Regions from separate parts of the Homo sapiens genome. Here region 2 is linked to region 1. The links are contacts of gene promoters, found by promoter capture Hi-C in blood cells and fetal thymus (Javierre and others, 2016). All regions are on one chromosome and are shown on one strand. Each heading gives the region's core, a stretch centred on a gene start or on the middle of the fragment in contact. The rest is flanking DNA. Distances are from core to core; before and after follow the strand shown.

What was found. Contacts are between HindIII fragments. The CHiCAGO score rates a contact against its expected background, and 5 or more counts as called.
Region 2: a fragment that was not itself captured here is called in contact with the fragment with the promoter of NPBWR1 in region 1 in 1 of 17 cell types (total CD8 T cells); the score reaches 5.1 in total CD8 T cells.

What each region holds. Positions count from the first base shown.
Region 1 is chr8:52,935,772-52,941,922 of GRCh38, reverse strand. It overlaps NPBWR1 (neuropeptides B and W receptor 1), which reads right to left and starts at 2,741. Exons shown (of 2, transcript NM_005285.5): 1 at 2,557-2,741; 2 at 1-2,212. The coding sequence starts at 2,015. The coding sequence ends at 1,029. RefSeq lists enhancers at 1,303-1,934, 1,935-2,566. The HindIII fragment of the contact is 12,259 bases long and covers 2,494-6,151 here.
Region 2 is chr8:52,656,207-52,663,145 of GRCh38, reverse strand. It overlaps RB1CC1 (RB1 inducible coiled-coil 1), which reads left to right. Exons shown (of 24, transcript NM_014781.5): 9 at 1,427-1,611; 10 at 1,865-2,051; 11 at 2,139-2,220; 12 at 2,489-2,550; 13 at 4,170-4,273; 14 at 5,022-5,148; 15 at 5,238-6,939. Among named protein-coding and RNA genes, the nearest start is that of RB1CC1, 55 kb to the left of the region's middle. The HindIII fragment of the contact is 207 bases long and covers 1,920-2,126 here.

The DNA.
Region 1 (6,151 bases), core at 1,492-3,991:
GGAATGGGGGTGGGGCTTGGCATCCTCTATAAGCAACGATGACCAGTGTGCCACAGCGCTGTGAAGCGCGCTCAGCCGGAGTGCTCCACCACAAAGCCCCGCGATCCTCCGACGCTAAGCACTCGGCCGCTGGCTCCTCCAGGGGGCGCCGGAACCGCGCGCCCGGGCTACTCCGGGTTCCTTGCTCCGGGAGTCTGACATTTTCAGGGGAGATCACGGATAGGAAAGGGAAAAGGCAAAGAAAAGGAGTAGGGGCAGACAGAAAGAAGGATCACTATTCGTATCATATTCTAGGCAGTCACTGCCAAGCGCCAGCCTCTTTCCCCGCATTTCATGCCTCCGCAAACGCGCGCACACCACACACACACACACACAGGTGTATACACACTCCGATGGGGCATCCCGAGTTGTTGTGTTTTCCCCAGTTGAAGAGGCGCTGGCGGCCTCGGCAGCGGTCCCCGCCCGCGGCGCCAGGCCAAGCGGGTCTCACAGGGGTGGGCGCCAAACGCGCGCGCCTGACCGTCTTCCCAGAGCGCGCGGAGGACAAGGGGACCCGCCGGGGCTGTGCGCCAGCTACAGCAGGGGCCGCGCGGAGCCGACGCCTGGGGGCGCCGGCAGCGTCCTCGGGCCTCCCTTCGAAGGCGCGGAGAGTTCCGACTCCAGCCAGGTTCCAGACTGCCAGGGCTCGGGTGGGGCAGCAGGGAGCAGGGCAGGGAGGGGGCGGTTCCCAGCAATACCGCCCTCCTCCTCTACCCTCCTCTTCCTCCACCTCGGCTTTAGGGAGCCCTCAGTGTGGCGATCTCAGCCTCAGTTCTCCTCACCCGGCATGGCCGCGCATCACCTGGAGGGCTTGGCAAGGTCAACCTGCGGGCACAGTCGCAGCGCTTCCGATCTGCTAGGTCGGGTATGGGGCGCGAGTCGGTTTCCCCAGGAGGCCTAGGCGGCCTGTCTGGTCCCGCACTCTGGCGCCGGCTCCTCCCTCGCTGGCCAGGAGTGGCGGGCAGTTGCGGAGCCGGACGCTGGGGGAGTCAGGCTGCCGCGCGGCAAGTTATCAGCTGGCGGAGGTTCCTGCGGAAGCTGGCGTCCAGGAAGGCGTAGAGGAAGGGGTTGAGGCAGCTGTTGGCGTAGCTCAGGCTGGTGATGAAGTAGGAGATAGCGATGACCAGCGGCGTCTGCGGGAGGTCGGTGGTGAGCGCCACCACGGTGCTCAGGTGGTAGGGCGTCCAGCAGAGGAGGCACACCGCCAGGATTGCCACCACCAGGAAGGTCACCCGCTTCTTGGCGCGCTCCAGGGCCTTGGCGTGGCTGTCCAGCCGCATGGCATGCAGCCGGCACAGCAGGGTGGTATAGAGGACACAGATGGTGGACACGGGGATGGCGAAGCCCAGCACGAGCGTGTAGAGGCGGCTCGCGCGCCACCAGAAGGCCTCGGGCTGCGGAAAGACTAGCACGCACTGGCGCCGGCCCTGCTCGTCGTCTAGCCGGGCGAAGACTGCGAAGGGCAGCACGACGAGTGTGACGATCCCCCACACGGCCAGGCTCACCGCGCGCGCGGCGCTGTAGGTGCGGCCGGCCACCCGGCGCGACTCCGCAGTGGCCAACACCACCAGGTAGCGGTCGGCGCTCATGACGGTGAGGAAGTAGAGGCTGGAGAAGGTGTTGTACTGGTCGATAGCCACGATGAGCTTGCACATGAGCTCCCCGAAGGGCCACTGCCGCAGCAGGAAGTCGGCGATGTTGATGGGCAGCACCAGCGTGAAGAGCTCGTCGGCGATGGCCAGGTTGAGGATGAACAGGTTGGTGACGGTCTTCATGCGGGGCGCCCGCAGCAACACGTACAGCACGGCGGAGTTGCCCGCCAGACCCACGGCGCAGATCACCGCGTAGACAACTGGTACAGCCACCGCCAGCGGCGCCGGCAGCGGCGCCAGAGTCGACGCGTTGGAGCAGCTCAGCGCCGGGTCCGGGCCCGATGCGTTGGCGGGCCAGGGCTCCGAGAACGAGGCGTTGTCCATCTCAACGAGGGCAGAGGAGCCGGCGACCTGGCGTCCCCCAAGGACGCCCTACGGAGCTCAGCGGTCCTGAAGCCCGGTTCTGCACGGACCTGCTCGCGGACGCTCGTTTCAGCTCTCCAAGCCGTTCTCTGGTTTTTCCGGAGGAGGGGACCGTTCCCAGCCACCCCACGGCCCAATGTCGCCGCGGACTCACGGGGCTGGAAAGAGGAATTTAAAGCATAGGTTAGTTCGTCGACGTGTAACTTTAGAAATAGGCGCGGTCCCGAGGAGGGGTGGGGGTGGCGCCGCGGCGCCCCAAACCTCCTCCACGTGAGCGCTCTCTGCTACCTGTTGAAATCTCACTTCTACCAGTTGAATACATCAAACGAAATGCTAGAGAGAGAAGAATCCTCCATAGGAAAAATGCAAACCCTTCTCCCCTCTTTCAGGAAACTTCCGTAGACCCAGGTTACCCCACAGAATCCCGCAGTGGCAAGCTTCGGTCTCCCCAGGGTCTGTGCGCCCTCAGTAACAGCAAGCTCAACAGCAGTCTTTACCTTACCTGGCTGGCTGGGGAAGGGGTCTGCCTTTCCTGGAGCTGTCAGGAGAAAAGCCCGCCGGCTGCGGGGAGGCTGAGACGCCTGCCGGCTGGGTGTCCGCCTCCCCCTGTCTGCCTCCCCCGAGTTCGCCAGAGTCCGCAGCTCGCGTCCCCGCCGGTCCCTCCCGCGCGCCTGGAAGTGCAGGGATGGCGCAGCCGCGACTGCGTTCCACTGCCCTGACCGCCGCGCCCACCCCCACACCCCAAGTAAAATGGTCTTAGAACAGAGAACAGAAATTCCCCCAAATTTAAGGGATTCCTTTCTTCCATCCCAGTCGTGCAACCTCACTCCATCTGAAATAATAGAAAGCTCTCCTGTTAAGAATCGAATTTAAGGAAAACAAAGTTAGGGTGTAAGTGATCTATTTTTAAAGGAGAACAATGTAGTGGAGGCGCCTGTTCCATTTTTTATACACCGTAACACAAATAGGCTAATGTAATGTGAAATCTGAAAGGAGGAAAAAGTGAGTGCAATTTTATAATGCAAATCACCTGTTTTCTGCTACTCTGGTCTTCAAGGGGATAGAAGATTGTTAGTATGTTTTCTAAAACTACTTCTACTTCTACTTTTGTGTAAGTAAAGACTTGATTAGTAAAGACAAACGGCTTCCGCAAAGCCTTTTAGGGAACCATGACAATGCGTATTTCATAAAACGTTACAAGTTGTTCAACACACTCTCTACTTATCCACACACTTGCCCGATTCTCCTGCTAATGAGAGCTATCCTGCGATCGCAGCGGAGAGTAGCCAAGGAAGGACTAGCAGGGGCAGTCTTGAACTCCCCTGTCGCTATTTCCCTGGACTTTGGATTCTTTCTCTAGGAAGGGAAAATCATCTTAGGCTCCTCACCAGTTCCCCTAAGAATCGAATGAAATAAACTAAATATTGGTTATTTCCAATTTCTGCTTTTTTTTTTTCTCCACATTTCCTTTAGGAGAGAGAGCAAATTAAAACACGAGATTATATCCTCTAGTAAACTACCCTTCCACAAAAGCAGGCGAAGCCCAAATAAAGTGTATTTTTGGTCCTCTAGGATGCATCTTAGAGAAGGGGGCCTGAGATCCAGAGAGACCTAAAGTCGGCAGTAGAAGACTGTGGGGCCAGAAATACAGTAGCCCCCCCATACCTATGGGGGATAGGTTCCAAGAGCCCCAGTGGATGCCTGAAACCATGGATAGTACCCATTGCGGTCAATGGGAACATGTTTCTGTTCTTCCATCCAAAAATGATGCAACAGCAAAACTAGCATGCATTTCTTTTTTCTTCTTCACATTTTCGTGGATAGATTTGTTTTTAGTAGATCTTGGCAACCTCTGCATATGATTTTTTTTCTTTCCTTATTAAGTCCAGAATTTTTACCTTTTAACTTAAAGGAGGCATTTGCAGCTTCTCTTTGGCATATCTGAATTGCCAGCATCACTTCTCTTGCACTTTGGAGCCAGAGAGAAATAAGGGCAAAAAGTCAGTAAAATCAAGGCAACTTGAAGACACCACACTGGTCATTGCCACAGTCATCTAATAACCCAGATTGTGAAGTGACTAACAGGTGGATATTGTAGACAGCAGGGAAACGCTGGGCAAAGGGAGGACTCACTTTCTGTGGGAAGGAGTAAGATGGCTGGATCTCATCACGCCAATCAGAAGTCAACACAATTGAAAACCTAGGAACTGTTTATTCCTGGAATTTTCTGTTTAATATTTTTAGACCACAGTTGACCACGAGTAACTGAAACTAGGGACTCCAAAACCACTGACAGGGGGATCCACTGTCCAAAAGCTCCCTGGAATTTACCTACTCAATTATCTTTTTACCAGGATCTATACAAATCGGCTCCCCTGCAGTTTCACACTTTCTGTGAAACAAAATAACAGATGATTCTTAAGCTATGTCCGTAAGAAACACTATATGATAAAACACCATATAATGTTAAAGAAAAAATATATATAATAGAAAATCTCCAAACGGTTGAAGATGATCAACTATATACACATACGTGTATACATACACATATATACACACACGTGTATATACACACACATATATACACACGCATATATACACGCACATATACACACGTGTATATACAGACACATATGCACGTGTATATACACACACATACACAGTGTATATACACACATATATGCACACTTGTGTGTATATACACACACATATGCACACGTGTATATACACATACACACGTGTGTATATACACACATATATACACACATGTGTGTATGTGTGTATATATGCACATGTATATAGTTTATACACGTGTGTATACACGTGTGAATGTTTGTATACACATATGCACATGTGTATATACGTGTATATACACGTATGTATACACGTGTGTCCATATATGTTTATGTGTATATATACACATGTATGTATATAGTTGATCATCTTCAACCGTTTGGAGATTTTCTAGCCTTTTTATTGTTGACTTCCAGTTGAATTACACTGTAAACTGAGAACATACTCAATATGACTTCAATTCATAGATATTTTTTGAAACTTACTCCCCAGTATATAGTTATTTTCTAATTATTTCATGTGTACTTGAAAAATTGTTTTGCACTTGTTGGGTGCAAAACTCTACATATGTCAACTAGTCAAACTTACTATGTTGTTCAAATTTCTCTATTGATTTTTTTTCTTTTTTTTTGAGACTGGGTCTTGCTTTGTCACCCAGGCTGAAGTACAGTGGTGCAATTGCAGCTCACTGCAGCCTCAACCTCCTGGGCACAAGTAATCATCCCCTCTCAGCACCCCTAGTAGCTGGGATTACAGGTGCGCATCACCACACCAGGCTAATTTTTTGTATTTTTCGTAGAGGCAGGATCTCACCATGTTGCCCAGGCTGGTCTTGAGTTCCTGAGCTCAAGCGAACCACCAACCTCAGCCTCCTAAAGTGCTGGGATTACATGTGTGAGCCACCGTGCCTGGCTTCTGCTGATATTTTTATCTAACTGTCTCATTAGTTACTGAAAGGACGGGGGGGGGGAATTTCAATTAATGAGTGTGAATTTCTCTACTTACGCTTTCATTATATGCTGTCAACTTGTACTACGTAATTTTACTTTTTTTTTTTTTTGAGATAGAGTCTCACTCACTCTGTTGCCCAGGCTGAAGTGTGGTGGTGGGAGCCTGTGCCTCCCAGGTTCAAGTGATTCTCCTGCCTCAGCCTCCCGAGTAGCTGGGACTACAGGGGCACACCACCACGCCCAGCTAATTTTCTTTTTTTTTGTATTTTTTGTGGAGATGGAGTTTCACCATGTTGGCCAGACTGGTCTCGAACTTCTGACCTCAAGCGATCCGCCTGCCTTGGCCTCCCAAAGTGCTGGGATTACAGGCACAAGCCACCATGACTGGCCAATTTTCACTACATAATTTGATGCTGTTTTATTAAGGGTACACGAGTTTAAGATCGCTATATTTTCCTGTGGAATTTACCCTTTCATCTTGATAGCCTAATTATAATGATTTTATCATCATGTTATTTGATTTTATCAAATGATCATACATTTAACATTATAATATAGAATATATCACATATA
Region 2 (6,939 bases), core at 774-3,273, 280 kb after region 1:
TGTAAAAATATTAGTAATGAATTAGTACTAGATGATTTATGAGGATTTTTTCTATTTAGTCTGAATTATATTGAGTATGGTTGAGCAAATATGAAATTCAATTTATTGAAAAACTTTATTTTTTCCTTCTTTTAGCAATACAGTACTTACATGCTTTTGGTGTCAGGAAATCCTTTACTAATGGTCTAGAATTTAAATTTGGGATTGATTCTATATTTTTCATGGATTCAATAAAAAGTAATTGAAAACCAGACTTTGCGAAAGGAGTTAAAAGTAGCAAATTGTTTTTTAATAGATTACATTATAGAAAAATTATAGTTGCAGTTAACCAAAGAGTATATTGAAAGGGAAAAAAAAGGCATACAGTTACTATGAAAATTGTCTTCCTTTCAGATATTGAACCAGTTTGACTTCAGTATATATCATTCAAATCTAAATGTCATGATATTTAGGAAAACATGAAACAGAGAACTACCAGAAAATTGGAAGACACACTTGTCCTTTAGCTGGTCATAAAGTTAAGTTCCTAGAAGGATAATGATTTATTTACAGTATCAATACAGCAATCAGATGGATGTACAAAACCTACAACATTATTACATATAAGCCACTTGGTATATAGCATAGGAAAAAACTTTGTGGTAGCAATAAAGTATGTAGTAATAACCTTATTAAGTTATCTTTGGACCACATATAAAGAAAACTAAATATACTTGAGAGATAAATGAAGGAAGATTATGGCAGATCTATCTAAATTAATTAGTAACTTAATCCCTACTTGACAGATACACCGTTCACCTACAAAAACAAATGAGTAAGGACAGTTAAGAAAAACAGAAAAAATGTTTTTCTACCAAATAATAAAGTATAAACTCTGTGTAAAATCACACAATTCAGTCATTGTCCTAGCAATGGGAGCACAGATCAGTGGAACAAAATATAGTCCAGAGATAACTGGAGAGGGCAGTGACTTTTCGATAAATATTTTAAGGGCATTTTATTATTTTTATATTTGGGAAAGTGTCTAATATACTACTGTATAATGTTTGCTAGATTAAATCCCTTATTGTTTTTCAGTGACCTTGTTTTGTTTGTGCTGTGACTGACCGATAGTGTTATAGGATTCTAGACACATAGCTTCTAATTCTCATTGACTATTAAGTATGTCCTTGGCTAAGGGGCTTTATCTTTCTAGCCTTTATTTTCTTCTAGTTTGAAAAATTAAAGATGAGCATAGGATTCTTAAAAATTCTAGGTCTTGTGCCATTTATGCATCTACTACATTCGAGAAAAATAGAGGATTTAAAAATATTGTTAGAAGGCACAAAACGGGTTGTGTTTAACATAAAGATTTTCCACTTAACTGAATGTCCATACCTTTCATGAAACAAAATTAATGTCCTTTGAAACATTTTTTTTCTCAAAGGGATTTTTAGCTAATCAGAAGAGAGCTGAAAACTTAAAGGATGCATCTGTATTACCTGATTTATGCCTGAGTCACGCAAATCAGTTGATGATTATGTTGCAAAATCATAGAAAACTGTTAGATATTAAGCAGAAGTGTACCACTGCCAAACAAGAACTAGCAAATAACCTACATGTCAGACTGAAGTAAGTGATTCATTTATATCTGTTTTAAGATGTTTAGAATTGGTATTTATATTTATTTCTCCCAAATGATGGAGTGATTTTTCCCTACCATTTTATTGAAATACCTTATTGATGAACTTTGGAATTAGACTATTTTTGTAGAGCTTATATATCTTGATTTCTTTGGCTTAACTAAGTTAGTAAGCTTACTAAGTAAGTAACTAAGTTAGTACCAGTTTTGTGAATGTTGAAAATAATGGATTTTATTCTCTAGGTGGTGTTGCTTTGTAATGCTTCATGCTGATCAAGATGGAGAGAAGTTACAAGCTTTGCTCCGCCTCGTAATAGAGCTGTTAGAAAGAGTCAAAATTGTTGAAGCTCTTAGTACAGTTCCTCAGATGTACTGCTTAGCTGTTGTTGAGGTTGTAAGAAGAAAAATGTTCATAAAACACTACAGGGAGGTATGCAAGTTGAATTCTATTTTAACTGTATATGAACTTTAACGAATTGGTGTATGTTTATGTTTAACATAAGCTTTCCTCTTCTAGTGGGCTGGTGCTTTAGTCAAAGATGGAAAGAGATTATATGAAGCAGAAAAATCAAAAAGGGAATCCTTTGGGAAATTATTTAGTAAGTGTTCATTAATAATTTTAATTACTTTTGTAAAGGATAAAAGTTTTTATAAGCTTGGATTTTCTGTAGCATACTTCATGTATATGCTGTTAATTGCCATTGATATCTAGGAAATATTCCTTTTAAAGTGTATAGAATTGAATCCATTGTTAAATTTTAAACTTGAAGTACTGTCAACTTTTAATTTACCTTTTCAAAAACCAGAGATAATTTTTTGCCTTAAATAAAGCTCTAAAATAACCATATTGTTAATTTCTTTATACAGGGAAGTCTTTTTTAAGAAATCGTCTGTTTAGGGGACTGGACTCCTGGCCCCCTTCCTTTTGTGTATGTATTTATTTTCTAACCATGACTAAATTCCATATGTTTTAAAACCTTTTTTCCAGAAGTAGAGACATTTATCAGAAACTTGCAGAAATTGTTGTGGTTTAAAAAAAATCAAAATAAAAGTGTTTTTGGCTTTAAAAGCCAGTTAGCATAAAGCTTTAAGATTGATATTTGTATTCATAATTTTTTATAAAGAATCTTCATAACACAGGAAGATACCTTATACTGCACTGTTAGGATTGGTAGAAATAGATTCACTTGGTTTTTTTGTTTTCTTGTCTCTTCCTTTTTTTCTTTCCACCCTTCCCTCTTCTTTCTTCCACTGCTCTTCTCCCTCCCTCCTCCTTTACAGCCTCCACCTCCTCCTTGCCCTTCTATATTTCTTTTCACACCACCCCCCTTTATATTTTGACAAATCAGAATAATAAAGCCTCAGTTAGACTTCACTGGAATTAAACGTTAGTTTGATATGTTTCTAAACCATTGTTATCTGGGGTCATTAATTGTATTACATGAGAAGAAACGTTTCCATGATCAAAGCAATATGGGGGCTTTTACCCCCATCAGATGTACTCTTAGCTGTGTTGTTGTTGTTTTGGAGACAAGAGTCTTGCTCTGTTGTCCAGGCTGGAGTGCAGTGGCACAATCTCATCTCACTGCAACCTCAGCCTCCTGGGTTCAAGCTGTTCTTGTGCCTCAGCCTCCCAAGTAGCTGGGACTAGAGGTGCCTGCCACCACATCCAGCTAAGTTTTTGTATTTTAGTAGAGACGGGGTTTCACCGTGTTGGCCAGCTGGTCTCAAACTCCTGGCCCCAAGTGTTCTGCCCACCTTGGCCTCCCAAATTGTTCAGGTTACAGGCGTGAGCCACCACGCCCAGCCATGCTTAGCTGTTAAACATGTTTCTATACTGCAGGATTTCTTAGTGTTTTAAATGTATGCATTTTTTAATACATAAGAATTGGTGACATAGCGATTCCCATACTTATTTATCCGAGAACTCTTTTTTATGAAGAGCATCTTGGCATCTCCACATCTGCTTGAGTAATGATTTAAAACAAGTTTTTTTTTAATGCAACTCTTGGCAATTTTATAAATAATGAATTGGTAGGATTTACCGGTTAATATTTTTTACAGAAGCTAAAATTGACCAAAACTTTGTCTTCTGGAAAATGTAATGGAAAAGTCAAGGCAAAAGCAAATAAGAAAGTGTTACATGGAAAAAAAATACATGTGTGCATTTTAATATATTAGTGGCTTTAACATGGTAAATATTATATATATACGCACACACTTACATATGTGTTTACCATATGTATATGTACATACATACACATACAGGATAGGAATATTGTAATTCCCATAAAATGATGCTAAAAGCAGAGAAGGGGAGGAACAAGTGCATCCCTTGATCACTAGCAGTTCACGTCGCAGTTTACTAAAGGCTCAGGAAAATAATATGCCATATCTTTATTGAATGGTCTTTTTTTGTTTCTTAATCATTTAAAGCACTTTAGTTTGTTTGGTATAGTAAATTTAATTATAGTAAGAAATCATATAAATTTGCTGTCTGTTTTTGGTTGAAAAAAAATTTTTTAAGTAATTAATTTTTTTGGTACAGACTCAAAAGCCTCGAAAGTTTGACTGTGAACTTCCAGATATTTCATTAAAAGATTTACAGTTTCTGCAATCATTTTGTCCTTCGGAAGTTCAGCCATTCCTCAGGTAAATGTCATTAGTATTTTCAGTTAATTTATAACCTTAAAATGTTTTTATTATTCTGGAGTTGTGCCAGGTAGTACCAGTAATCTTAAGAGGTGCCAAGATAAGAAATATTTAAGATAGACTGGCTTTCCTGTGACTGCTTTGAGAAATTTCTGGGGAATAAAAAATGATGGAAAATGAAGGTAAAGTAAAGGAAGACATGCCTTACATGTAATTATTTTTTTCTAGTAGTTACTTTTTGCATGCTGTTGGGAAATTTCTGACTTTTTACTTTTTTTTTTTTTTTTTTTTTTCTTGAGACGGAGTCTCGCTCTCTCGCCCAGGCTGGAGTGCAATGGTGTGATACTGGCTCACTGCAACCTTCACCTCCCATGTTCCAGCAGTTCTCCTGCCTCAGCCTCCTGAGTAGCTGGGATTACAGGAGCCCACCACCATGCCCTGCTAATTTTTGTATTTTTAGTAGAGATGTGGTTTCACCATGTTGGCCAGGCTGGTCTCGAACTCCTGACCTCATGATCCACCCGCCTAGGCCTCCCAAAGTGCTTGGATTATAGGTGTGATCCACCACGCCCGGCCCTAAGTTTTTACTTTACTGATTATGACACAAACTTCTTAAAATACTTCTGGTATTAATTTAAAAAGGAATGATAAGGCTCTTGTTATTTTTGACATATTAAAATATTTGGTAGCAGTTATCTACTAGTTCATTAAAAAATCAGAAGTCTAATTGCATTGCATTCTGTTTCAGGGTTCCCTTACTTTGTGACTTTGAACCTCTACACCAGCATGTACTTGCTCTACATAATTTGGTAAAAGCAGCACAAAGTTTGGATGAAATGTCACAGACCATTACAGATCTACTGAGTGAACAAAAGGCAAATTCAATTCTTTCAAACAGTTTTCTTCATTAGTGTAAAATGTTTGTGTTCCTGCAGCTCTTTAAGCCTTTCTTTCTGTTTTCCAGGCATCTGTGAGTCAGACATCCCCACAGTCTGCTTCTTCACCAAGGATGGAAAGTACAGCAGGAATTACAACTACTACCTCACCGAGAACTCCTCCACCACTGACTGTTCAGGATCCCTTATGTCCTGCAGTTTGTCCCTTAGAAGAATTATCTCCAGATAGTATTGATGCACATACGTTTGATTTTGAAACTATTCCCCATCCAAACATAGAACAGACTATTCACCAAGTTTCTTTAGACTTGGATTCATTAGCAGAAAGTCCTGAATCAGATTTTATGTCTGCTGTGAATGAGTTTGTAATAGAAGAAAATTTGTCGTCTCCTAATCCTATAAGTGATCCACAAAGCCCAGAAATGATGGTGGAATCACTTTATTCATCAGTTATCAATGCGATAGACAGTAGACGAATGCAGGATACAAATGTATGTGGTAAGGAGGATTTTGGAGATCATACTTCTCTGAATGTCCAGTTGGAAAGATGTAGAGTTGTTGCCCAAGACTCTCACTTCAGTATACAAACCATTAAGGAAGACCTTTGCCACTTTAGAACATTTGTACAAAAAGAACAGTGTGACTTCTCAAATTCATTAAAATGTACAGCAGTAGAAATAAGAAACATTATTGAAAAAGTAAAATGTTCTCTGGAAATAACACTAAAAGAAAAACATCAAAAAGAACTACTGTCTTTAAAAAATGAATATGAAGGTAAACTTGACGGACTAATAAAGGAAACTGAAGAGAATGAAAACAAAATTAAAAAATTGAAGGGAGAGTTAGTATGCCTTGAGGAGGTTTTACAAAATAAAGATAATGAATTTGCTTTGGTTAAACATGAAAAAGAAGCTGTAATCTGCCTGCAGAATGAAAAGGATCAGAAGTTGTTAGAGATGGAAAATATAATGCACTCTCAAAATTGTGAAATTAAAGAACTGAAGCAGTCACGAGAAATAGTGTTAGAAGACTTAAAAAAGCTCCATGTTGAAAATGATGAGAAGTTACAGTTATTGAGGGCAGAACTTCAGTCCTTGGAGCAAAGTCATCTAAAGGAATTAGAGGACACACTTCAGGTTAGGCACATACAAGAGTTTGAGAAGGTTATGACAGACCACAGAGTTTCTTTGGAGGAATTAAAAAAGGAAAACCAACAAATAATTAATCAAATACAAGAATCTCATGCTGAAATTATCCAGGAAAAAGAAAAACAGTTACAGGAATTAAAACTCAAGGTTTCTGATTTGTCAGACACGAGATGCAAGTTAGAGGTTGAACTTGCGTTGAAGGAAGCAGAAACTGATGAAATAAAAATTTTGCTGGAAGAAAGCAGAGCCCAGCAGAAGGAGACCTTGAAATCTCTTCTTGAACAAGAGACAGAAAATTTGAGAACAGAAATTAGTAAACTCAACCAAAAGATTCAGGATAATAATGAAAATTATCAGGTGGGCTTAGCAGAGCTAAGAACTTTAATGACAATTGAAAAAGATCAGTGTATTTCCGAGTTAATTAGTAGACATGAAGAAGAATCTAATATACTTAAAGCTGAATTAAACAAAGTAACATCTTTGCATAACCAAGCATTTGAAATAGAAAAAAACCTAAAAGAACAAATAATTGAACTGCAGAGTAAATTGGATTCAGAATTGAGTGCTCTTGAAAGACAAAAAGATGAAAAAATTACCCAACAAGAAGAGAAATACGAAGCTA